Linked DNA regions of Homo sapiens: region 1 is linked to region 2. Evidence: promoter capture Hi-C in human tissues and cell types (Jung and others, 2019). All regions are on one chromosome and are shown on one strand. The core of a region is centred on a gene start or on the middle of the fragment in contact, and the rest is flanking DNA. Distances in the headings are between cores, read along the strand shown. Region 1 overlaps RPRD1B (regulation of nuclear pre-mRNA domain containing 1B). Region 2 holds the start of NNAT (neuronatin).

What was found. The method cuts DNA at HindIII sites, captures the fragments that hold promoters and counts their contacts. A contact is called where the count stands out against the background at its distance.
Region 1: a fragment that was not itself captured here is called in contact with the fragment with the promoter of NNAT in region 2 in 2 of the 25 tissues and cell types used here (bladder and dorsolateral prefrontal cortex).

The regions. Positions count from the first base shown.
Region 1 is chr20:38,037,899-38,043,885 of GRCh38, forward strand. RPRD1B (regulation of nuclear pre-mRNA domain containing 1B) reads left to right here. Exons shown (of 7, transcript NM_021215.4): 2 at 2,537-2,666. It overlaps LOC124904898 (a long non-coding RNA gene), which reads left to right. Exons shown (of 2, transcript XR_007067579.1): 2 at 1-209. Among named protein-coding and RNA genes, the nearest start is that of RPRD1B, 7.1 kb to the left of the region's middle. The HindIII fragment of the contact is 3,717 bases long and covers 1,276-4,992 here.
Region 2 is chr20:37,516,362-37,523,047 of GRCh38, forward strand. It overlaps NNAT (neuronatin), which reads left to right and starts at 4,889. Exons shown (of 3, transcript NM_005386.4): 1 at 4,889-5,042; 2 at 5,997-6,077; 3 at 6,306-6,686. The coding sequence starts at 4,971. The coding sequence ends at 6,398. It overlaps BLCAP (BLCAP apoptosis inducing factor), which reads right to left. Exons shown (of 2, transcript NM_006698.4): 2 at 1,056-2,989. The coding sequence starts at 2,813. The coding sequence ends at 2,550. RefSeq lists enhancers at 2,234-3,097, 3,098-3,961. The HindIII fragment of the contact is 18,819 bases long and covers 4,019-6,686 here.

The sequences.
Region 1 (5,987 bases), core at 1,884-4,383, 520 kb after region 2:
TCACTTAATGAAATTTGCTTTGTTGAAGTTCTGTTTTGCTTTCGAATCTGCTAACTTGCATGGGATTATAGGTGTAGTAGTTTCACTTACATCAACTTTGCAGAGCAAGGTTTGCTTTAACAAAAAAGCACGTTTTGCCATAATCATACCTTTGTAGCAACAGTAGATATTGTAACTACTGACACTTTTGTTCTGCTTTTGAATAATAATTAGAAAGTTGAAGAAAGCTCCAGGTTCCTAGTATTCTTATCAGTTGGCCATCTAAACTAGGTTATTACCAGAAGGTTAAGACAATTCAGGGTATCCATATTTAATTTTATGAGCATTTAAGACATCAGTTTCATCAGTTTAAACTGTAATGTGCTATTAAAATCATGTTTTTAACTTGGGTTACTCTCCTGTAGCTACATTTTTTTTTTTTTTTTTGAGACGGAGTCTCTTACTCTGTCACCCAGGTGGGAGTGCAGTTGGCGCGATCTCGGCTCACTGCAACCTCCGCCTCCCAGGTTCAAGTGATTCGCCTGCCTCAGCCTCCCAAGTAGCTGGGTTTACAGGCGCCTGGCACCACGCCCGGCTGATTTTTTTTGTTTTGTTTTTTTTTTTTTTTTTTTTTTTTGAGACAGAGTCTTGCTCTGTCACCCAGACTGGAGTGCAGTGGTGTGATCTCGGCTCACTGCAAGCTCCGCCTCCTGGGCTCACCCCATTGTCCTGCCTCAGCCTCCTGAGTAGCTGGGACTACAGGCGCCCGCCACCACGCCTGGCTAATTTTTTGTATTTTTAGTAGAGACAAGGTTTCACCATGTTAGCCAGGATGGCCTTGATCTCGTGACCTCAGGTGATCCACCTGCCTTGGCCTCCCGGAGTGCTGGGATTACAGGCGTGAGCCACTGTGCCCAGCCTCCTGTAGCTACATTTTAAAATGTCAGATCTTATGCCTGCTATGTCAGACATATCAATGCTTTGTACATTTCAAAAGAAACAACTGGTTTCAGAGAGAAATAGAGTTACTCAGGTGTGTTAAGGTTGATAAAGAGCTTGTGTTTTTCAGGTACTTTAGCATTGGAGAAAACTTTGTGTTTTGAAACATCTAATTATGTTCTTATTTATTTCTTTTAAAAGAAAATTGGAACCAAAAATTGTAGGGATGTAACTTTATAGTTGAGAAATTATGTGCATAGAAGCCAGGGAATTCAGTAATGTTCCCCAAAGCAACTGTAACTCAGACATATTGCACGAGGTTTTTATGGTTTAATATATGATACCATATAGAGTAATAGGGAATAACCACATTTCATATAAATAAGAGAGAATTATGGTTTTTGTGAAAGCCCTAATTTTGCATATCTAGATTTCACACGTGTGTAAATTTTCAATAAGAGTGTAGTGTTAATGTATACTTGTATTTGAGCTAATATCTATTGGTGCACCTAGAGATTCTTCTATATTATTGATTATGGTTATTGGAGTATCAGAGAAATTCTCAGTTTAGGAGCAAAATTACAAGAAACCTTTTTTTTTTTTTTGAGACGGAGTTTTGCTCTTGTTGCCCAGGCTGGAGTGCAACAGCATGATCTAGGCTCACCACAACCTCTACCTCCCGGATTCAAGCGATTCTCCCACCTCAGCCTCCTGAGTAACTGGGATTACAGGCATGTGCCACCACGCCAGGCAAATTTTGTATTTTTAGTAGAGACGGGGTTTCTCCACGTTGGTCAGGCTGGTCTCAAACTCCCGACCTCAGGTGATCCGTCCATCTCGGCCTCCAAAAGTGCTGGGATGACAGGCATGAGCCACCACGCTCGGCGAAACCATTTTAAAATTGAAACCTAACTCAGTCTTTTTTTTTTTTTTTTGAGACAGAGTCTTGCTCTATTGCCCAAGCTGGAGTACAGTAGTGCAATCTCGGCTCACTGCAACCTCCACCTCCTGGGTTCAAGCGATTCTCCTGCCTCAGCCTCCTGAGTAGCTGGGACTACAGGTGCCCACCATCACACCCGGCTAATTTTTGTATCTTTAGTAGAGGTAGGGTTTCACCATGTTGGCCAGGCTGGTCTCAAACTCCTGACCTCAAATGATCCACCCACCTCGTCCTCCCAGAGTGCTGAGATTACAGGCATGAGCCACTGCGTCCGGCCAACTCAGTCTTTCATTCTGAAATATTTGATAATTAAAAGTGAGTTAGAAGTTGCTCATTTTTGCAGTAGAATAAATAAAAGCCCTAGTTTCAACATTAACACTGACTGCTTATCCTTTAGGAATTCTCTTTGGATTATCTTAATTTTTACTATCAATTAATTACCCTGGTTTAAACAACACAGCAATGAAGATGGCCCATTCTTTTTCTTTTTCTTTTTTTTTTTTCCGAAATGGTATTCCCAAACCTATTCCTTAGGTGGTCTTTTTAAACATATCTACTTGACCCCCCAGGTAGATAATACTTGTCTTAATGTTTTTTTAGGAGCAGCCCAGGGCAAAAGAATTGTGAATTGAGAATTTCTTTGGTGTAAGTTAAATTCTTTTCTTTTCTTTTTTTCAGCCAAATCAAATAGAAAGCTTACTTTTCTGTATTTAGCGAATGATGTCATCCAAAACAGTAAAAGGAAAGGACCTGAATTCACTAGAGAATTTGAATCTGTCCTTGTGGATGCTTTTTCTCATGTTGCCAGGTATGTTGTCTGTTTTTTGGATTTGTTTTTAAATTCATTGCCTTTCCCACCTTTTTGTTCTTTCCTTTTCTGTGATAGCCTTTGTAAATTGACAACTTCCTACTTTACAGAGAGTTGTGGAGGCCGAATTGTGGTTTTATGTTTTGTTGAGCCCTCAAGAACTATCGAGACATGTAAACATTCTGATACATTTGAGAGATTCAGCCTAGCATTATCTTTCTTCTAGATATATTCATTTTCATTTTTTGAATTTATTTCTTGGTTATGGTATTTTCCTTGGTTTGGTTGAGTTGTCTCATCAGCTTATGATCAAAAAACAAAGCTAACTAGTAAGGGAACCTTTTAGTAACATAACTTAATAGCAAGAAATTAATTGCCAAATGCCTTCCTTTTTATTTCCTTCTGGATTTCTAGATGTCTAGTTTACTAAAAATAGTAGGCATTACTGTAACTGCAATAATAGTAATTATTAGTGTAGAAAGTAGGTGTTTGCTCTGGCTATATTGTATTAAGCCTGGTGCTGTTGTGTTTTGTGGCAGAGAGGAGTGGCACTCATACAACTAATACCATAGAAAGCATACATTGGATTAAAAGTTTTATAAATTACTTTACTTCATGTAAAAACAAAAGCTTTCTGTGGGCTTAAATTAGGTGCCCAGGAAAAGCAAAGAAAAACTATCGTTCATTAGAATATTATGTTTATAAGTAAATATATAAACAGATATTTGCAAAAGGAATTGGGAAACATGAATGGGAGACTAGTAGGTTAAACATAAATTGTTACTAGGTCTAAAATATAGTGAAAGGCCTTAAATGAGAAATGAAGTCCTGCTTTCATTGCAGGATTTGAAAAGTTTGAAGGAATAAAATTAGAAATCCAAGAGAAAGAAATGACACCTAGCTTTCTAGAGATGAAAAAGATGGTTTTTGTGGATAAGTTACATAACTGGCTCACCTTTTGATCAACATGGGCGCAAGTAGCAAAATGTGTTATTAACTTGAAAAAAATACTGAATCTTCATAACAGAGTAAGCTTAGAACAGACTACTAGAGGAGCTATCTGAAATAGACAGATTTTCTTGCTTTGATGAGATTTAGTTCACAGTTGCTTAGAAATTGATGGTAGCTCTGCCTCAGACACTATGTGAGTGACCTTGGATGTGTTACTTAACTTTTTGAGCCCAAATTTCCTAACTGGCTAAAGGGGGAGGATACCACTCCCCCTCATAAGAGTTGTGAGGGTAAAGACAGACAATATGTTTAAAAGTATGTAGTACAATGCCTGTTCCACATTTGCTCATTCATTGGATCATTTGTTTTTTCCTATATTCCAGGCACCTAGTAAAGTGTCTGGCACAGAGCTGCTGAGTTATGTAGCTTGAAGGAATACCATTTATATAGCCTCCATGTAAGTGGTGTCCCAGGAGCTGGGCAACATTATGGTCTGCCCTGACACAGTAGGCGTTCAGTAAATATTTGTTAAATGAGTTAATTAATGTTAACTCATTATGGAAGAGATTTGGTCTAGGGAGTTGGCTGGAATGATTTCTTGTAGGGATAGTAAACATAACAGTGTTATTAAAAAATTCCAGCCTGGGCAGCATAGTGAGACCCTGTGTCTACAAAAAATTTTTTAAAAATTAGCCAGGCATGGTGGTGTGCACCTGTAGTCCTAGCTACTTGGGAGGCTGAGGCAGGGGGATTGCTTGAGCCCAGGAGTTCAAAGCTGTAGTGAGCTATAATCATACCACTGCACTCCAGGTTTAGCAACAGAGCATGACCCTGTCTCTAAATTACAAACAGACAAACGATCTGTAATCTTTAGCTGTCCTGAAACCAAAAAGTAAATAGAAAGGGGTGGAAAAGGGGGTGGGCAACACCAGGGTTAAAAATTCCTTTTTTCTTGGGAACACCTTAAAAACTAGCCAGGTTTTAGGTGTCTTGGCAGATTCAGTGGCAGTGTGAGGAAGATAAACCTGGTCCTTCTCAATAAAATAGCCCGAATTCCTTTCTGTTTGCATTCTGGTTCTTTTAAGATTCTGCTTGGGTATTACATTCAGGATACCCATGTTTCCAATCTCCTTTCTTATACCCCATTATTGGGACAGAAAGTCCAACAGTTCTGCTTCAACCGTGATGCAGCTCGTCCACAGTAGGAGTAGCCTAATTAACATATACTTTCTGTGTGCTTTTTCTGTGGTCAGTTGATGAACAAAGATAGTTGACCCATTACTGTTGACTAAATTGATGAGGGATATTTTTATGATAAAAGACACCTCCACACCCAAAACAAACAAACAGTAAAAAAAACTCTCAAGTCAGAGAAAGCTGCCAAGTTCATAGGATAGATTTGATTTGAATAGCAGTTTAATTAACCAGACTGCAAACTTGCTTTTCATACAAGTGCCTTGTTTTCTTCCCAGTGAGGAGACAGCTGTCCATGTCATTTTTCATTCAACATGTATTGGAGTGCCTTCTATGTGCCAAGTATGGATCCAGACACGGGGGGAGCAGCAGTGAACAAGGCAGGCAAAGACAATTAAATGAGCAAGATACTTTCAGAGCAGGACAATATGGACATAGTAAAATGGAGTGATGTTCTAGAGTAGGATCTCACAGGTAGTGTGGTTCAGGAAGGCCTCTAAGGAAATGACATTTGCGGTAATCATGCGAAGCGGGAGCAGCTATTAAGAAAAACTTAAGGCAGAGATCATCTTGGCCTTCTAAGAGAAACAGAATGAAGGCTGGTGTGGTTAGAATATAGTGCACAAAGGGAAAAGTGATATCCAGATGAGGTCCGAGAGGTGGACATGCAGCAGTCACATACACCCTGTAAGTCTTGGAAGTTAGGATTTTTTTCTCATGGGATGTCATTGAAGAGTTTTAACCAGGGGAATGATATATTCCAATATATTCCAACATACATTTTTAAAACATCCCTCTTTAAAAATGGCTTAGTGTAGAGGGATGGATTGTAAAGGCCAAGGGAGGGGCGGGGACATGAGTTTGGAGGATATTGCTGTGATGCAGGCTAGAGGTGACATTGCCTAGGACTCAGAAGCAATGGGAAGATACTAATAGCTTCCATTTATTGAGTGCTTCCTTCGTGGGAGGATCCCCACCTCTCCAGTGTAAAACTGATAGGATTTATAGGCGTTGAGTGGGAGCTGGTAGTAAGTGAAAAGAGAAATCAAAGACGATTTCTAGGTTTTTGATGTAAGGAATGACTGATGGTGCCCTTTACTGAAGTGAAGATTGGGGAAAAGATTTGGTGGAGGAAATCACGAGTTTTGTTTTGGCCAGGCCGAGTGTGAGGTGGCT
Region 2 (6,686 bases), core at 3,639-6,138:
AGAGTCAGGTCTGAGTCTTGCCCCTGAAATCCCCAGCAAGCCTAGTACAGGGTCTCAATGTTTGTTGAACAAACCATCCTTTCCAGGTATGACTCCTCAGCTTGTCAAGACTTTGCAGAACCACGAAATCTATCCAGAAACACAGAAAAGAAGAATTCAGAGATAAAAGCATAAAAGAATCAGGTAAGAAAATTACCCAGCAGATATGATCGATAAAAGTTTGGTTCTTTGAAAATACCTCTAAAATAGACAAATCTTTGGCAAGTTTTGAATGAAAAAAGGAATAAAGTGACAATGGGGAGACTTAAGTGAACAGGAGAAAACCATACTCAATTTTATAGCAACAAATTTAAAGCCTAGGTAGAACAGGTGATCTTCTATGAAATTACCAAAGCCCTTCACGACTGTGACTCAATAAAACCTCACGACAGCCCTGTGCCTTGGACAGGCAGTATTCCTACCATGCTTTCTAGAAGAAGGAGATTCAGAGGTGAATACTCAGCACAGGACCTGACAAACTAGCCTACACTGTCTCAAAGGTCATGGCCATGGGAGCACGTGCATACCTACAACATGGAACCACACCACTCTCGGCACTTCCAGCCATCACCTTACATCCGGCTGGTTGGACAGCCAGTCTTATTTATTTTTCCACTTGAAATGCCATAAGGGGTTTCACTATTTTTACTTCAAAAGCAGCACCATAAAAATCCTTGATGATTAGAGCTCCAGCTGTCTTAAGTTGTTTGTCAAGGGATCGGTTACTCAAATCTCCTATGGAGGGAAACAATTTCAGGCAAGAAGCCATGGGAGCTGAGAAACGCAAATGTCTCATCTCTGAAAACTTTCAGACTCCCTCCTGTTCACCGCCTGTCCTGCCCCCTGCTCCCCCTCCCCCATCCCCACCATCTGCTCTCCAGAAAGCAGATCAAATTTTCAGGCTAAGGTACTCTGGCGCCAAAGACTCAGCCCCTCCATGCTTCCCCCTGCCCCCCACCAACTCCGAAATCCAACACCACGACCCAAATGGACTGCAGCCACATAAAACCACAAAGTAAAGTTTATAAAGCTTTATTAAACATTTCAAACAGCTGTGCAACGAACACACCAAATAAAAGCTCTAGAATAGCAGTCCAGACGTTTCACAAGTATGGCCTCACAGTCCCATTCCCTAGATGGACTGCCTCCAGTTCTGTTCTCTGCCTGGCCCATCTCTCTTTCCCCTCAGGCAAGAGAGAGATGGATGGATCAGACTGAAAGGACAGGCATGCTGATCTCCAGCAGGCAGGGGCCAGGAGAAAGTCTCGTTTGCCAACACTTGTTACTGAAGCGCAGAAAAAGCAGCAAGTGACAGTCACAAAGTCTTCCTGGGTATTCTTCATAATGTACAGTCTATATGCGCAGGAACGAAGAAGCTCCTGGCGGGAGGATGATGGCCACTGCTCCCCTCTGTCTTGTCTGAACCACCTCGGAGTCCAGTGTGCTGGTCACTCTGCAATCCCCATGCTAAATAAAAACTGTAGCGGCACCTACCATATATAGCTAGCTATTGCTAAACCTCAAAATCAGACCACGTTCGATAAAGCTTCTTTAAAAGGAATATACACATGTATTTGTACACACACACACACAGGGCACACCAAAAAATATCCAAACATCTATCAAGGGGATCAAGGCCGTTACGAAACACACAGGTACTCTCCCACTCACTCAGCTGGGGACTGCTAGAACTACGTGAACACACCATACTTCAATGCTGCAGAGCATGCACGGGAGACACAATGAGGCCCCCTCCTTGGGACAGTTGAGAAAGGCAGGAGGAAGGGCAAAGGAAGTGAGGCTGGGCGGGAAAGCTTGAGCCCAGACACCCAGGTGAAAGAGCAACATCTATCTGTTGCTTCCTTTCTTAAAAATGAAGTGGAGAAAATACTGAAGATTTGTGGACAACTAACAGTCAAGACATGTTTCTGTCTAGCCTGCTGAACAAGGAAAGAAGGATGAAAAAGCGAGGCTCTCGGGCGTCAGCAATCTCTTCAAATTCGAGATAAGTGCAAAAATGAGCCCTGTCTTGGACAGGTACTCCCCAAAAAAGGAAAAGGGTAGAAGAGAAATAAAGGGAAACCAGAAGAGGGACTGAGGAGTCAGTAACATTCTGGGAAGGAAGGAGACCCTGACAAGGAGGGGTCACAGAGGTGACAATGAGACTGGCATTTTATCTGCCCCAGGTCACATTGGGGCAGCTGACCAGGATGGACCCAGACTCCTCACAGTAATGAGGCGAGAGGGGTGGTCATGCGGCCAGCCAGGACCTAGATGGGGACAGAACACACACAACCACAAGACCACCCACGACTATAGGACTTTACAATAAAAGCACCGGTCAGTGCCATTATTCACATTGTAAGGATAAAACATCACAGGCCAAAAAGGCGCCGTCAGGAATGTGACACCCGCGAGGCTGCGGGATTTGAAACTCCAATGCTTTATGACCTATGTCAATGCCTCCCCTCCCGTCTTCTGCTTCCTTGGAAAGCTAACAGGGCAGGCCGTTAGGTGCCCACAACGCCGGGATCATGCGCCGATTCTGGAAGCGGGGAATCGGAGCAGTGGTACAGGAAACAGTTTCCCCAGCAGCTATAGCAGATAAGGAACAGGGCTGCCAGGAAAACCAAGGCACAAATTGTGCAAGGCTTCCGTTCCAGGAGGAAGCTGAGCAGGTAGAAGCCCATGAACATGGAGTGGCTGAACCACAGGGCGGGGTTGAGGGGCTTGGGGATGAGGAGGACGGGCAGCAGCCACTGGAGGCAATACATGATCTCTGCCGGGCAGGGCCTTCACCAAGGCTGCCGGGCACCGCTGCAGGAACCGACCTAATGGGAGCCAGCGGGCGCAGGCGGCTGCCCTCCGCTTTCTTCAACCCTCACTCTCCAGGAGCTGAGCCGCTGTGCTCTCTGGCTGTCAGCCCGGGATCACCAAGGCAGCAGGGATCCTGAAGAGAAAAGTCAACACAACAGACAAACAGACAAAGAACAGACAGACAGACAAAAAAAAAAAAAAAAAAAGAAAAAAAAAAAAAAAACAGGAACAGAATGTATACTTATTTGGGAAAATGGATCATGGTTAACAACAGCAAATGTGAAATGCCCTTTCCTCCCTGCCCACCCGTGAAAGTTCTACTCCTCTCCAAGTCACTAATTCGGGAAGCTTCCTGGGATGTCTCCCCGGGGCTTCTCCTGGGGGATCGGGGAGAGGGCTCTTTGGCACGGTTTCACACAGTGGGCTGGCTTTGCCTGGGCCCTGCCCAGCAGAGATCATGTATCGCCTCCTGGGGCTGCAGCCCGTCCTCAAGGGGCCCAGACCTCACAATACCGCCCAGTGGTTGCCAAAGGACGACCAAGGGCTCCCTGCTGTGCCCCCACGTGGTAAGGACAGGGTTCTGTATCTAGCATCTCTCACAGCCATAGGTGCTCAGGCACTAAGTGCAGAGTTAAAGCTGTTAGCGGGGCACTGCCGGCCACCAGACCACAGGCAAAGGATCCTGAGGCAGCTACAGCCTCGAAATATTTTAAGATGGCAGCCTAGGCTAAGCTTGCCTTTTTCAAACAGCCCAGCGTCACTTTGCCAGAATCTGCCAACTTCTCCGAAAGTCAATGTAGAAAAAAAGTCACTATGCTACTTTGTCCAAACTGAACTCGTTTGGATCATTACACCTCCATCTGCTGCTGGCACTGTATAGAACCTGACCTCTGGGAGCTTTTAATGAAAATTAATTTTCTATCCACATAGGGGCAAATGCCAGTTGGTCCCTGGGCCAGGCAGCTTGCTGGAAAGAGGTGCTTTCGGCTGGCTACCGGTGCGCGGGGACCACACTCACAAACCGCATTCCGGTCTTCCCGCCCGAAAATCCGCGCTGTGCGAGGGACCCACAAGACTGGCGGTCTAAAAGGGACCCGCCTCACTTGGAAACGGGGCTGCGGTAGCCACAACCCTCCGGTAGCGGTAGCGTAACCCCGTTCGGTGATCCAGCCGCACAGCGCAACGGGTACAAAGAACCCCACTGGCTAAGGCCGACCTACCAGGGCTTGGGGGAGGGGAGCGGAAGACTGAGGTCGAAACGACCTGTCCAGCAGAAAACTATCCCCAAGCATATTCCAACCACTTCTCCGTAGAGCTCATTCCTTCCGTGCATACGAAGGGCGCCAATCCTTCCTGTATCCCTCCTACAGATACCGGGTGACTACTGCTTTTGCGCCCAAAGCGCAGTGCTCTGGCTCAGCTCCCTACAGTAGCGACCTCCACCGCAGATTCTCATCTCCTCGCTACCGTAAGAGAGATGTAAAGAATCAGACGGGTTACGCGCTCAGGCACCCTCATGAAGCAGAGGACCTGGGCTTAAAACTCATTCAGTATCAGGAAAAGAGCGCCGAGCACGGGCCTATTATGCCAAAGCTTCTGAAAGGGGCACCACGTTTTTTGCTCTATGGGGCAGATGACCCCTCCCTAATTTCGGTTTTCCATCCATCCCCAAGGTAGGCTTTGGAGTGGCACCGGAGACTGAGCTCAAATTTGCAGGCCAGGGACTGGGGAGAAGGGCGCCACACTAAGAGACCTGCACCCCCATTCTCGCCCTGTACTCTACCCAGAGTCGTGGTACCCCTCCATTTTAAAGCAAAATCCAAAAGCAAGCACGGCGGAATCTTCTGGAAGGGGGCTAAGATGGAACTCAGGAGGCGGGGGTCGGTATGGAAAGAGCAGATGGATTATTTTTTTCCTCTCCTGGCGAATGAGGAGCGCCCCCAGCCACCCCTCCTCATAAACACCCCCCAAGGCGCGCATGCGCACTTAGGTGGCGGGCGGGTACTTAAGGCGCGGCCACCGCGGCTGCGGCAGTGCGCCCAACAGCGGACTCCGAGACCAGCGGATCTCGGCAAACCCTCTTTCTCGACCACCCACCTACCATTCTTGGAACCATGGCGGCAGTGGCGGCGGCCTCGGCTGAACTGCTCATCATCGGCTGGTACATCTTCCGCGTGCTGCTGCAGGTAAGTCTGACGGGGTTTCGGGTGGGAGAGGGTTCCCAACTCGCGCCCCTAGAACCCGCAAGACTGCGTCGCGATTGCCGCTTCCCGGACCCGTCCTATTCCGATTGCCGCGATCCTTGCCTGCCCAAGTGCCGCTGCCGGCACCGCGCGCCCCCTGCCCATTCCCTGCGCCGTCCTCCTCGCGCTGACCCTCCCTAGTGCGCCCGCGCCTGCCAGGGAACAAAGACTCGGGGCGCGGCGGGCGACCGCTGCGGACGATCACCCAGGCATTTAGCGACCTACGCGGTAAGAAAAACCCGCTACACCCGGACTCGACCCCAGGAGGGAGGCGGGGCACTACTGTGTTGAAAGACTTTACAGCTCGCAGAGTGAAAATTTTCCACCTTAAAAAATTGCGCATTGCGGAGAAATTTTATTTAAAAAAACATATAGCGCTTGCGGGGGTGGAACAAAAAATAAGTTAGAAAAAGGCACTTCTCAGAAAAAATAAAAATTACTTCGCAAAAAAAAAAAACCCTACAACGAATTAGAGAAAAAGTAGTTCACAGGAAAACAGAAAAACGCGCATTGCAGGAAAAATAAATCGGAGAAAAGCACTTGGCAGAAAAAAATGCATTAGATTAAAAACGCACTGCAGAAAAAAATTAGACAAGGGAGCTAACGGAAAAAAATGGATCGGGCAAAAACGCTTTAAAGAAAAAAATTAGAGGAAAAAGCCCCTCGAGAGAAAAATAGAAGGGGAAAAAAAGCACTTCCAAAAAAGGACAATTGCTTTACAAAAAAAAAAATAATAATAAAAAAAATAAAAAAGAGGCAAAAGCGCTTGGTGTAAAAAGAGATAAATCAGAAGAAAGCGCTTTGCCCATAAAATCATTTACCCTAAAAGCTCCCTTTGCAGGAAGAATTCCCTGCTAAAGGAATCCTTTGCCAAAGGAATCGCATATTTCCTTCAAGGTGTTCCTGGAATGCTGCATTTACTGGGTAGGATTCGCTTTTCGAAATCCTCCAGGGACACAGCCCATTGCGAGAAGTGAGGTATACCTAAGTTGTGGGTCCAATCAGCTTGCCGCCATGCAGCTCTCAGCACAGTTGGAAAAGCTCCAGCTGCCCTGACTCGTGGACAAGCTGCGCCCGCGCCCGCCTCTCCAGCCTACGCTGGATGGGCGGGCGGGGCAGGGGGTGGGGCGGGGGTGGGCACGGCAGCACCACAGACATGCTGTGGGTGCTCTCCACTAAGGGTGGGTCCTGGGTTTCTCGTCGCAGGTGTTCAGGTACTCCCTGCAGAAGCTGGCATACACGGTGTCGCGGACCGGGCGGCAGGTGTTGGGGGAGCGCAGGCAGCGAGCCCCCAACTGAGGCCCCAGCTCCCAGCCCTGGGCGGCCGTATCATCAGGTGCTCCTGTGCATCTCGGCCAGCACGGGAGCCAGTGCCGCGCAGGAATGTGGGGTCCCCTGTGTTCCCTCGCCAGAGGAGCACTTGGCAAGGTCAGTGAGGGGCCAGTAGACCCCCGGAGAAGCAGTACCGACAATGACGAAGATACCAGATCCCTTCCCAACCCCTTTGCACCGGTCCCACTAAGGGGCAGGGTCGAGAGAGGAGGGGGGATAGGGGGAGCAGACCCCTGAGATCTGGGCATAGGCACC